Regions from separate parts of the Homo sapiens genome. Here region 1 is linked to region 2. Evidence: promoter capture Hi-C in 16 types of primary human blood cells and fetal thymus (Javierre and others, 2016). All regions are on one chromosome and are shown on one strand. The core of a region is centred on a gene start or on the middle of the fragment in contact, and the rest is flanking DNA. Distances in the headings are between cores, read along the strand shown.

The links. The method cuts DNA at HindIII sites, captures the fragments that hold promoters and counts their contacts. A CHiCAGO score of 5 or more calls a contact.
Region 1: a fragment that was not itself captured here is called in contact with the fragment with the promoter of INSYN2A in region 2 in 1 of 17 cell types (megakaryocytes); the score reaches 5.3 in megakaryocytes.

Annotation. Positions count from the first base shown.
Region 1 is chr10:126,901,819-126,907,377 of GRCh38, forward strand. LOC105378550 (a long non-coding RNA gene) reads right to left here and starts at 3,560. Exons shown (of 2, transcript XR_946449.3): 1 at 2,742-3,560; 2 at 1-2,624. DOCK1 (dedicator of cytokinesis 1) reads left to right here and starts at 3,610. Exons shown (of 52, transcript NM_001290223.2): 1 at 3,610-3,745. The coding sequence starts at 3,700. LOC124900289 (a long non-coding RNA gene) reads left to right here and starts at 3,913. Exons shown (of 2, transcript XR_007062336.1): 1 at 3,913-5,559. RefSeq lists an enhancer at 4,631-5,379. The HindIII fragment of the contact is 1,573 bases long and covers 483-2,055 here.
Region 2 is chr10:127,192,176-127,198,008 of GRCh38, forward strand. It overlaps INSYN2A (inhibitory synaptic factor 2A), which reads right to left and starts at 4,416. Exons shown (of 6, transcript NM_001039762.3): 1 at 3,822-4,416; 2 at 430-555. All of the region lies in intron 27 of DOCK1 (dedicator of cytokinesis 1), which reads left to right. The HindIII fragment of the contact is 7,592 bases long and covers 2,380-5,833 here.

The DNA of each region.
Region 1 (5,559 bases), core at 19-2,518, 290 kb before region 2:
GGGTGGCATTGTGCATTGTGACTACATGCCTGGTCATCCAGTATGATGCCCAGATCTCCCACTGAATCCAAGAGGCAGTGGGCATAGGCCTTGTTCCTCTCCTTTCAAAGGGCAAAAAATCTGTGGTCAGGCCCCTTTTCCTGCATAAAATCTCCACATCCCTGTTCCATTCTCATCTCTCCCCACCGACTGAGAAACATGCCCCATTGACTCACTGTGCCTTCTGGTACCTCCACCAGGCAAGATTTTGCTGAATTTACCTCCTGAATTTGCAGTGCACATGTGTGAAATTTTTTGGAATTAAAAAAATTAAAACTGTACTTTTCAAGATTTAAAACTGTAATATTGATTGTGTTCTTCATGGCCCCAAAGCAAGATTCTGTTGTATCTTGGAGGAGGGGGGTCACTACTCTGAAATCCCAGTGATGGGCAGCACTGAGCAACTGAGAGCCTCAGCATTCTTGGGCTTGTTCACACCCACAAGCTTGGCACAGATCCAAGTCCTGCAAGATGCCTGGGAGGGCAACTGAGACCTGTGGCCCAGCCACATTGACTCAGGAGGTAAAAATGTCAACAGGCCACAACCTCCAGGGCTCCTGGAATTGGAGACGAAGCCAGTTCTGAGCTTATGCAACCATAGGACAGTGAGAGAGGGCCATGGACTCGATTTAGAGCCACAAGATGAGAGCACTGCTGGAGCACCGTGGGGATGCTGACAAATCTTCTCAGGGCTTCAAGGACCGTGGCTACAGGTACATCTCAGCCAAACTTGGGCACATGTTGCAATCAAGGGACTGAAGCTACAACCACCTGGCCCGTGGTCCACCTGGAGTTTTGTTTTGTTTGTTTTTGAGATGGAGTCTCACTCTGTCACCCAGGCAGGAGTGCAGCGGTGCGATCTTGCTTCACTGCAATCTCCACCTCCTGGGTTCAAACAATTCTCCTGCCTCAGCCTCCTGAGTAGCTGGGACTACAGGTATGCGCACCCACGCCCAGCTAATTTTTGTATTTTTAGTACAGACAGGGTTTCTACTAAAACCCTGGTTGGCCAGGCTGACCTCGAGCTCCTGACCTCAAGTGATCTGCCTGCCTCAGCCTCCCAAAATGCTGGCTGGGATTACAAGCATGGGCCACTGTGCCCGGCCCCACCTGGAGTTTTAAAATTCTGATTTATAAATTTATTATATGACAGTCTACCAAAAGTATGCAAATCCGGCACTACACTTATTTATGCATTCAGTGAGTCACCTTTATCTGAGTGCAAGTGGCAACTGTTCTAGAAAATGGGAACCATGAGGTTATCAAAGAACCTGGAGGTAGGGTCAGATGAGGAAGCACATCATTATGATGTCTTACACATGCAGTCATGTCTCCTCTTATAATCCTAAGACTCACCTGTGAGATTCCTATTACAGCCCCTAGTTTACATGTAGGAATATCAGAACCCCAAGGTTTAGAAACAGAACGGCCAGAAACAGGAGGAGGATGGCCATGCAGCTGGGCGTGGCAAGGCCAGGCCTCCCAAGTCTGCATGACTCTTAAGCTCCTGGCCATTCGTTACAGCACGCCATCTCCAATGCAGAATCACACCAACAGAACTGAAACTGCACATTAAAGAGAAGGCGAGTGTCACCAAAATCTGTTTCCCAGGCTTCTTTGCAGAATTCCAAATTCCTAGCACGACCAATAAGGCCCTTCTTCTACCTCTGCAGCCTCAATTTATGTCACTTTCCTGTTGTTCCCTATGCTTCGGCCATCCTGGCCTTTCTGTGCTCTGAAGGAGTGGTGCTCCTTCCTAAACCAGGGCCTTTTCACGTGCTGTTCCCACTCCAGTTCACCTAGCTGGTTTCTGCTTATCCTTAAAGTCTGGGTTTATCTTATTTCCTCAAGGGAGGCCTCCCTGCTCTGGAGCAGGTCAGGCCACCATGTCCTTTACCGTAGAGCACCCTACTTGTCCTGGACAGCACCTTCACAGATGCTTCTCCTTCAAGGGGTCAGAGTCACCAGGCCACCACTACAGCGCCTGAGCCCCGGAGGTTTCTGATTTCCACAGAAAGCTTCAAGTGCATGCTGTGTGTGAGTGAGCCTGGCCACTTCCTCTGTGGGACTTCAGTTCCTTATCAGTAAAACAGAGCCCGTGGCTTTCCATGAATGTGGGGTTGACTTACCAGAATGCTCAGGTCCCACGTTATCCTCTTGAACGCAGCAGCTTTCCTCTAACCCACGAAAATGGAAAAGCTCCTGTGCCATTCCCAAATACTTATTTAATCTGCATTCTGGGTGGCCCCTAGGGCAGGTGACGGGCATTCTCTACCGCAGGATGGTGCCCCACCTGGTCCTCCCCAGGCCCTGTGGCCATCCTGGCCACCTCCCTGTGGGCTCTCCCAGCCCTGCTGTTCAGCACTGTCCCTACCTCACAGAGGTAGGGACCTCTTTTTCTTACCTTCTTCCTTTTCTTACCTTCGTTCCTCCAATCCCTGACGGCCCCCAGACCTACTGTAGTTGTCTCTGTGTCTTCGGAGAGAAGACACCCCATTAATGTGCCATGAAACCAAATTTATTCCATTTAAAGGGCTGCCTTCATTCGGAGGCTTTGTCCATGTCTTGGTTTTAACCTCTCTTTTCTGAAATTACAGTAAAAATAAATAGGTGTGTGTTGCTTTAACTTTTCCCTTGGAGAAATCTGAAGCCCCCACCTTTTACTGTCATGGGAAACACCAGGGCCTGAGAAGAACTCCCACCTCGGGCGAGGATGCCGTTCCTGAGCCCCACGCGTGGCCTGGGCTTTCCTTTCCCTACTTCTCTCTTCCCCCGACTTCAGCAGATCCTGAGTCCCACAACTATTCTAGCATTAGCTTCTGCAAGCCCAGCTGGGCTGAGGTTTCTGCGGCTGCTTCCTCTTGGTCTCTCTGGAAAACTCCACTCATTCAGCACCCAAGCAAGAGGTCACCTGTCTGGAACGCACTCCCTCGGCAGCGCTGTGCCACCTCTTTCCACCCCATTTGAGTGGCCGGCACTTACCTGTGCTGTTTGTTACCTGACGTGTCCCTTCTCCCACCTACCAGGCAGTTGGTGCGGCGCTCCCAGCACACTCGGGCAATGAGTGGGCAGGCGCTCAGGTAACGTTTGTCGAATGAATGAATGAGCCACGTGCTCAGGAGGACCCTTTCCAGAGCCTCTGCTGGTTTGTTCTGCTCCGGGACTCTCCACCAGGGAGAAATCCGAGCTGGGGACCTCGCACCACCAGGCTCCGGCCTAAGCCCGCGCCTTGCAAGCCGCCCGTTTCCTACCTCCCGTAGAAACCCCCCGTCCGTCCCGCCCCCCTAAGGGCGCACCCCTCTCACGGCGTGAGCGCCAGCCCCGGGAGCTCCAGGAACTCAGGAGAACCCCGCGGGGGTGCCCGGGTGCGGAGCGCGGGGCTGGGCGCACTGGGACAGAGGAAGGGGAGCCCCGGCGACCGCGGGGTCGGGGCCCAGGGTCCGCGCCGAGGGCGGGCGCAGAGCCCGCGGCCGTCCCGCCTCCCGCCGGCGCTCCCGGCCTTTCCCATCCGGCCCGCGACGCTCCGCCCGCCCCGTCCCACATGACGCCGCCTCCGCCGCAAACTTTTTCCTCCCCATCCTGTCGCGGCTCGAAAGGAATGGAAAATGGCGGCCTAGACGCGGAGTTTCCTGCCCGACCCGCGGCGGCTCCGGCGGCGCCATGACGCGCTGGGTGCCCACCAAGCGCGAGGAGAAGTACGGCGTGGGTGAGCAGCGCCGCCGCCGCCGCGCCTCTCGCCCCAAGCCCAGGCTCCGGCGGGGCGGGTGTGCCGGGCGCCTGTTGCCGCCGCCCCGAGCGGCCGCCGGGCCGGGGAGAGGCGCTTCCGCCCGCGCCCGCGCCGCCGCCCCGCTCGCAATGCCCGGCGACCCCGGCCGCCCCGCGCCCCCGGCGGCGTCAGCTCCAGCCCCGGGGATGCGGGTCGGGAACACGAGGGGGTGGGGTGGGAATGGGGGCGGGCGCGTCCCTCCCTAGGGTGTCCCCTCCGACGCCCGCTCCTCTGGACCTCTGCCGTGGAGCCCCCCGGGCTACCCCCAACTCCCCGGCCCCGGCCGCTGCTATCTGCGCGGCTGGGCCCGTCAGGGAAGCCCAGGGGTCACTGTCTCGCGGCGGCTTCTGCTTCTTGGATGAACTTGCGTCCCGCGTCCGGGCTCTGGGTGGGCGGGCTCAGGTCGGCGCGGTCCCAGCGGATAATTCCGCCCTTTCCCGGCGGGGAGGAGGGGGCGCGACCTGGGTGGCCAGCGCCCCTTGCCCCTCGGCGGTCTCGCTGGGGACCGTGTGGGACCTTGGAGAGAAGGCGAGCGGCCGAGCGCCCCAGTGGCCCCAGGCCTGGAGACCCTTCCGGGAGAGCGGGGGCCTGTTTTTGCTCCGCGGCTCTTTGTCGCTTCCGAGGGGGGATGGAAGGAGTCGGGTTGCAAGTTTACATTTCGGACCCGAGTGCGCATTCCTGAGAGGGAGGCTTTCCCTTGCGGCTGAATAGACGGGCCCGTCCGCGTGGGACCCGCATCCTTGCGCCCCGGGGACCCGCAGCCGGTCGCCGAGGCCTGCGGACGCCCACCTCTTCGTGATCTGCGCGCCTGGTGTCGGGACTGGGCCGTGGCTACTCTCCTGCTCTCCCGGGTCCGGGATCTTCCCAGTTGGTTTTCGGGCTTGCTATTCCCCGTCCCACCATCCACAGACATCCTTGACCGCCTGCCTCATCCAGGCCACTCGACCCGACTGGGAAGACCTTTGGTGGTCTCGCCTCCCACAGCCCAGGCTGTGTCCTCCAAGGGCACCGTCTCAGCAGCAGCCCCGCGCCCATTCTGTGCCTGGCCCGTGCTGGACCTGCCCGACCCTCTGCTGGTGTGGTTCGAATCCTGGCTCTCTGACTTTTGGGAAGCGCCCTGGCAGCCCTTGTCCCCGGAGCGCTCTCCTTTCTGTGAACAGTTGCTTCTCTCTGCTGTCAATGACTTACAGTATGCCCTGACCACGGAGCCAGCTGGACAGTGGTCACGGGGACAGTCCTGGGACAGCCCTGGGTCCTACCGGGCCTGCACTTAGCTTGTTCCACATGCTGGGAGGCATAGGGGGCCTCCTTGCTTCAGGACCATTATGACTGAGCTTCCTCCCCATCTCCCCATTTTGCAGATGAGGAAACTGAGGCCCAGACACATTCACAAAAGTGCAGGAGAGCTCATCTGACTGCAGACTCAGTGTGTAACCTGCACCCTGTGCACCACCTAATGGATTCAGTCTGGGGCACTTGGCACGGGCCTTCAGTCTGCATCAGAGGCGAGAGGTTCGGGGTGGATATTCCACCTGAGAATGCTTGGGTTGTGGCGACAGTGGGGGTCCCTGCGGGGGTAGTGTGTAGAGGAGAGAGCTGAGGACTGACTCCCAGGGAACCTAGCACCAGCACACGCAGAGAGAGAGGAAGAGGTGGATAGGCAGGAGAGGCAGGAGGCTGGCAGAGGAGCAGGCATCCCATAGCCCTGGCCCTGCTGAGGAAGCAACTTAGGTGCCCATGGCCAGGGTGCAGTA
Region 2 (5,833 bases), core at 3,166-5,665:
CAGCAGGATAGTGTGGTAAAGAGAACATGTCTATGGATGTGCAATACTTTGAATAAACAGTTCAGTGCTCTATAAAATAAATATTCACAAATAATGACTTTGGGGAGAGTTATTTCCAAATCCCTTTGAAATATGTTGTTAGCCAAAAGGTTTATAGAGTAATTTAGAATCATAATTCCTGCTTGTCCCTAATATCTGCTGTTCTACATTCAAGTTAATTTTCTCTCAGTCCCAATTAGAGCTGGGAATACATACTCAGCAGAAAGAGACACATTTGTCAGGTTAGAATGTTTTGTTTTTATTCAGGTAGTGATTTGTCATCTGATAACATCTTTATACACCTCAAAGTCCCTCAACCCATTCATTATGGTTTGAATAATGTCTAAAGCACGTACGACTCAAATGCACACTGAATATCCTGTGACTTACAGTAGAGGGGTCTCTGAAAGGACTTGAATTTGGAGCCAGGAAATGTCTCTGAAGTTATGGTTTTTCTCAATGTGAGAGGTAAGATCCTTGGTTGCCTGGAGATACCTTAGTTAGTGCCTTCAGGATCTGAAACAGACACATTATCACACATGGTCCAAAGGTTCAAACCTATCCTTTCATGGCTTAGTGCTTAACACAAGACATTGTCCAAACAACTTGTTTACAGCAATCCTGTCAGGGTCCCTATAGTTTGGTTCCTGCAAGTCTGTATTCTGTCCTTAATGTATAAGAACAATGTACATTTTAAATAAACTGATTAAAAGTCATGAAGTTTCACTACATATATATCATAGGTTAGCTCCAGTATTGGAATAAAGACTTCTCTCAATGTTTGTATGAGAATTTCATGGTAATGAAAGTGTCGTCATGTAGTATCAATCATATTAAATTTTGCTTTAAAATATTGAAGTCACCCCATAATGTTATGAAATATTAAAATCAAATATGTGAGACAAAAAAGGATCTGCTTCATAAATCATGCCAGCTAATTTCTGGTTGGGGAATGTAGGTCTCCAACCAGTGGAATCATGGTGGGGAGGGGTTGTGGTGCTTCACATTTATGAAAGACTGTTGAAAATGACGATGACACTGGTTTTATCTGGGGAGTTTTTATGACCTCACACTCCCAGAATGACGGTGGTTTGCCTCAAGTATGTAGAATTTGCCTGCCTTCCCAACTGAGCTTCTTGGATGCTATGGACGCGTTGAACAGCATCCTTCACAAGCGTTAAAATCCGTGGTGAACCTGTCACTGCCCTCCTACGTAAATATCTGACCACAGAGCTGCTGCTTTGGGAGGTAGCTGTGATCATTTCTGTATCATGAGTCTCTGAGAAGCATAAGTCACCTGCTTCTCATATTCCAGAGTTCAGTAGTTGTCTCTAAATGAGATAGCCATGGCTGGGCGCAAACAAGAGAATACAAATGTCTACGTGAACGGGTCTGTCCTGCCACTCCACTGCGATCCGTTGTTATTTCTGAGAATCATTTTGATTTTTGGACTGCTTATTTCAGTGTGTAGGAGTCTTCCTTGTAGATGAATGCCTTTCACGTACAAGTCTTTCTCTTATTTATTGATTTATTTAAAAATTTTTCCCTACAGAGGGAGAAACAAAACACAAAAATTCCCTTTCCTGCCACAGGGGAAAACAACTGTGGCAAAACAGAGAAGCCCCCGAAGTAAACAGAGTAATAGAGTACCCAGCCTCCCATAGAGCTTGCAGAAATCTCATTGTGCAGACATGGAGCTTCCCAGCTTTTGCCTTGTTAGCCTATTTCTTAACCAGTAATTCTGTTTCTTAATAGGATAAAGGGCCTGACTTACATGAAAGCTCAAAGTCTTAATCACAATGATAAAATACAAAGTCGTGGCAACTGTAATAAGTTTAAAGACATATGTAGCTTTTCAAGGACATCTTGTCTTTAAGGAAAAGTCTTTCATTTAGCTAAAGAAATTAAACTGAATTGTTTAGTCTTTTAAACAAAATGATGAATTTAGTGAAGAAAACAAAACTCTCCATGGCTAATGTAATTTATGCAAAATCATGCAATTAGTGATAGCTGTGCTAGACTTTTTCTTTTCCTTAACCAAATGCGCCTCTAATAAAACCATCGTGAGGAGCAGTGCCATCTAATGTAAGTAGTAAACATGGATAGTAAATGATTAATATCTGGTGAGGCATGCAGATGGCAGGACTTCCATTTTTTCTTTGAGCTCCTTGTGCATGTTTGCTAATCATTCTTGCAAAAAAATTGCAAAGATAAATATGAACTTTCAAAAGTAACATTCAACAGGATATGAATGTAAGAAATAGTACAGTGTGGGGGAATAGTAAAAACCAGCACTTTCCGCCTCTGCATAGTGAAATGACGGTAACTTGCTGTAGCGTAAGCTTAATAAGGGTTATATCATTTTCATGTATGTACTACTCTGGGAATGGCCCGGGTCTTGTGAGTGGTATTTTTTCATCAAGTACCCAGCCAGCGCAGTCACTCTGACAGTCCCCCCACTGAGATAAGGCATGGAAAGGTAACCCTCTAGCAAGTCCTCGTTGAGGGGGGAGCGTTCAAGTGCACAGACGTCTACCCTGTGCTATCCTGAGCTGTAGTCTTCTGAAATGATCGTTTGGCTTCCCAGCCAAGGCAGGGCTCCCCCAAAGTTCATTCCCACTCTTGCAGTTTCACCTCGGGATGCTTCCGCAGAATTTCAGCGCCTAAGCAGACAAGGTCAAAGTAAACCGCTTCACCGCTGCTTCTGGCGCAGGGGCCCAGAGCGCGTGCAGCTCCCCAGCACAGACCAACAGCAGGAGAGGGGTCCGGGCGGGAGCCCTGGGCTGTAGATAAGCAAAACGCACCCATTTTCTCTCCTATTTACTCCAGAGGCACCTCTCCTCCCCCACTCCTGGCATCTCTTTATCACTGGCTCCCTCTCCCTGTGGCATATTTTTGGGTAGTAGAATGCTGAGGTCACAGGGAGCGGCTCTTTATCCAAGCAGTGGGGACATCAGCCTGGAGCCCTGAGCATGAACCAGCAAGATGCAGACTCTCGCTCTTGACTTTGGGCTCCAGGAGCTGCCCCGACCCCGGGCTGCCCGCGGGCTCCCTCCTCCCTCCTGCCCTCGCCCGCCAGCTCGCAGTCTCTTAGGTCTGCAGCGTTGGTTGGTTTCCCACGCCTGTCCCGGTCTGACTCGGGCTGCCAGGCACCGGGAAGCCCCGCGGCGCCGACCCCAACCCGCAGCCCCGGGAAGGTGCCAACCCCAGCGAGTGGAGGAGACGAGCATTTCACGTGGGCATCTGCCTTCACTGCTGCTCGCGCCTCTCCTCAACGGCCGGCGTCAGGGCCCCTCTGTTCCAACTCATCCCCCCCCCGAAGTTAATCAGCCGTACTTGTACTTTCCAGGGCGCTTTAGTTTGGAAAATACTTAAAAGCCTCGAAACCTTCCGGGGAGACGGCCGCCCCCAGATCTCCCAGTTTTGCCTGGCTAGGGCTGTCGGGCGCTCACGAAGCTGTGGCGTCTGTCTGGAACCCACATCGCAGAGGCGCAGCCCCGCTCCTCCCTGACGTCGCCAAAGTTGCCAGACGCCCCTCAGCGACCCGGTCGCGCCAGATGCAGTTGCATAACCTTGCCCCCCACCTGCGACCGCACCGGGTCCGCTCCCGGCTGCACCGGGGTGTCCCGGCCCCGGGAGCCGCCGAGTTTCCGGCCAAGCCGGTTTGGGGCCGAGTGTGTGCGCCCGAATCGGGGTCGGCGCCCGTCCCAGCGGTGCTCTGCCCGCGGCCAAGTACGACGGGCGCGGGGGCGCGGGAGGAGGGCACGCGGGGCTCCGCTTACCTTCCGCTGCTTACAGATAAGTCGAGGTCGATGCAGCGCCTGGCTCGGGCATGTCTCGCTGCGGACCCTGGCAAGCCTGGGGCGGCACGGAGCACTCCGGACAGGGCATCCGCGGCCAGACTCGCCGCGCTCACGCGGAGGAAGCCTCGGCTCCGGGGACTTGGCCCGCTGCGCGCCTGCTGCCCGCCCCCTCCACCGCTGCCGGCCCGGCCCTGCTGGCCCGGCCGGCCCCCGCGCCGCAGCTCGCGTCGCTCGCGTCCCTCCGGCCCCGCTTAGCGACGCGCGCGGGGAGGCAGCGGCTGGGCCAGCTCCGGGGACGCCCGCGCGCTCGCTTGCTCGCGACGCGGCGGAGCCAGCCACAGCCACCCGGCTTCGCGCTCCTCCGATGTCCTCATTTACTGCAATTGTCTTCGGCGAGATCTCAGAGCCAGGGCCAGGAGGCGGGGGCGGGGCAGAGGAGGGAGCAGGAGGGAAGTCCTTTCCGCTGCTCCAGGTCCCAGCTACTCCGCGGAGCCGGGCGGCCAGAGGCGAGGGCGCCCCAAGCCGCGCGCCTGCCGCCTGTGCGCCCGGCTGGCACCGAGGCGGGCGGAGCCCCGGGCCCCGCGGGGCGGAGGTGGGGCGGGGGCGGCGCGGGGCCGGGCCGGGCCGGGCCGCGTGCGTGGGGTGGGGGATAGGGAGGGAGTGGAGGAGCCCCCTCCCGCCGCCGCCAGAGCTGGAGGAGGAGGAGGAAGAGGAGGAGGAGGTGGAAGGAGCTGCCGCCGGCTGCCGCCGGCTGCCGCCTGCGCGCGGGGCTCCGCCACAGCGCGTCCTCCGGGTTTCTGGGCTGCAGGCGGCGCTGCATGGCCCGGGAACTTGTTGAGTCTACCCTGGAGCCGCCTCCGGAGCAGCTGGCGGGCGGGGGACTCCGTGTGTTCTCTCAGGGATGGGGGGTCGCTGGGGACCCTGCTGCATGACTGTCTGCTGTGCCAGCCAGCCTGGCCCGGCGGGGCTTTGGGAAGCCAGGCTTGAAGGGTGCGTGTCTTGTAGGTGCCTGGCCGCTCACCTGCGGATGCTGCCTTGTAGAAGCAGGAGTTCGGGGATCCTTTCAGTGCTGGCTCCAACCTGGTGTCAGCCTCTCTACATGGGGACAGGAGGTCCTATGAGTGGCCTGAGGACTGAAGTGGGAGGGCCTGCCTGGTAATGTTGCATGCTGACATTTAGGGACACTCCAGAGCAGGCGCCACTGCCACTCCTAGCCAGGAACCCTACCCCCCATCCAGAGCACACACCACCCGTCAGCAGAAGCCACAGGGCGCAGAGGCTGAGTTCCTTTGTGGCAGAGTAGAATTCTCTTGGGAGAGGAAAAGACCTAGGATGCACACGGAGCTATCCCCGCCCTTAATTTCCCACCCACCAAAGAGTATTGGGTGTTTTGAGCTCAGAGCAGCAGACCCAGGGGCCCCTCTGATGCCTGTCAGGCCCTGGGGTCTGGGCCAGGGACTAAGCAGCCAGCCGAGTGCAGGGCTCCTGGCCCCCTGGATTTGCTCCTAGAATGTAATGTAAAATGTAAGTAGCCACATTTATTAGTCTGTTTCTCAGGAAAGGTCAGAGAAGTAGTGGACCCCAGGGAAGGGACAGGCTTCGGAGAGGAAATTGGGAGGACAAATGGAAAGTCCCTTCACCCACCCACCTCTCCAGACACATCAGTGGGCAGTGAGACCTCTTTGCCTATACATCCCTGAGTCTCTGCACCTAGCACCAGCTCTGTGCCTGTGACCAAGCCATAGCTCCATCCTTGTTCGCTGAGCTGAACTGAGCCTATCACTGCCTTATAGAGTGTCTGTTTTTTATAAATGACTTTATACGAAATACCTTCTTTGTATGTGGATGCTTTGGGCAGTGTGTCCAGACATTTCAGAAGAAAAAAAAATCTAAAATGTCATCTATTTCCCTCTTTACCCCGCAGCATCCTTTGGTATACAATTTTGCCAGCCTTGGGGATCCAGATATGCCCAGGACGGGAGTCCTGAGCC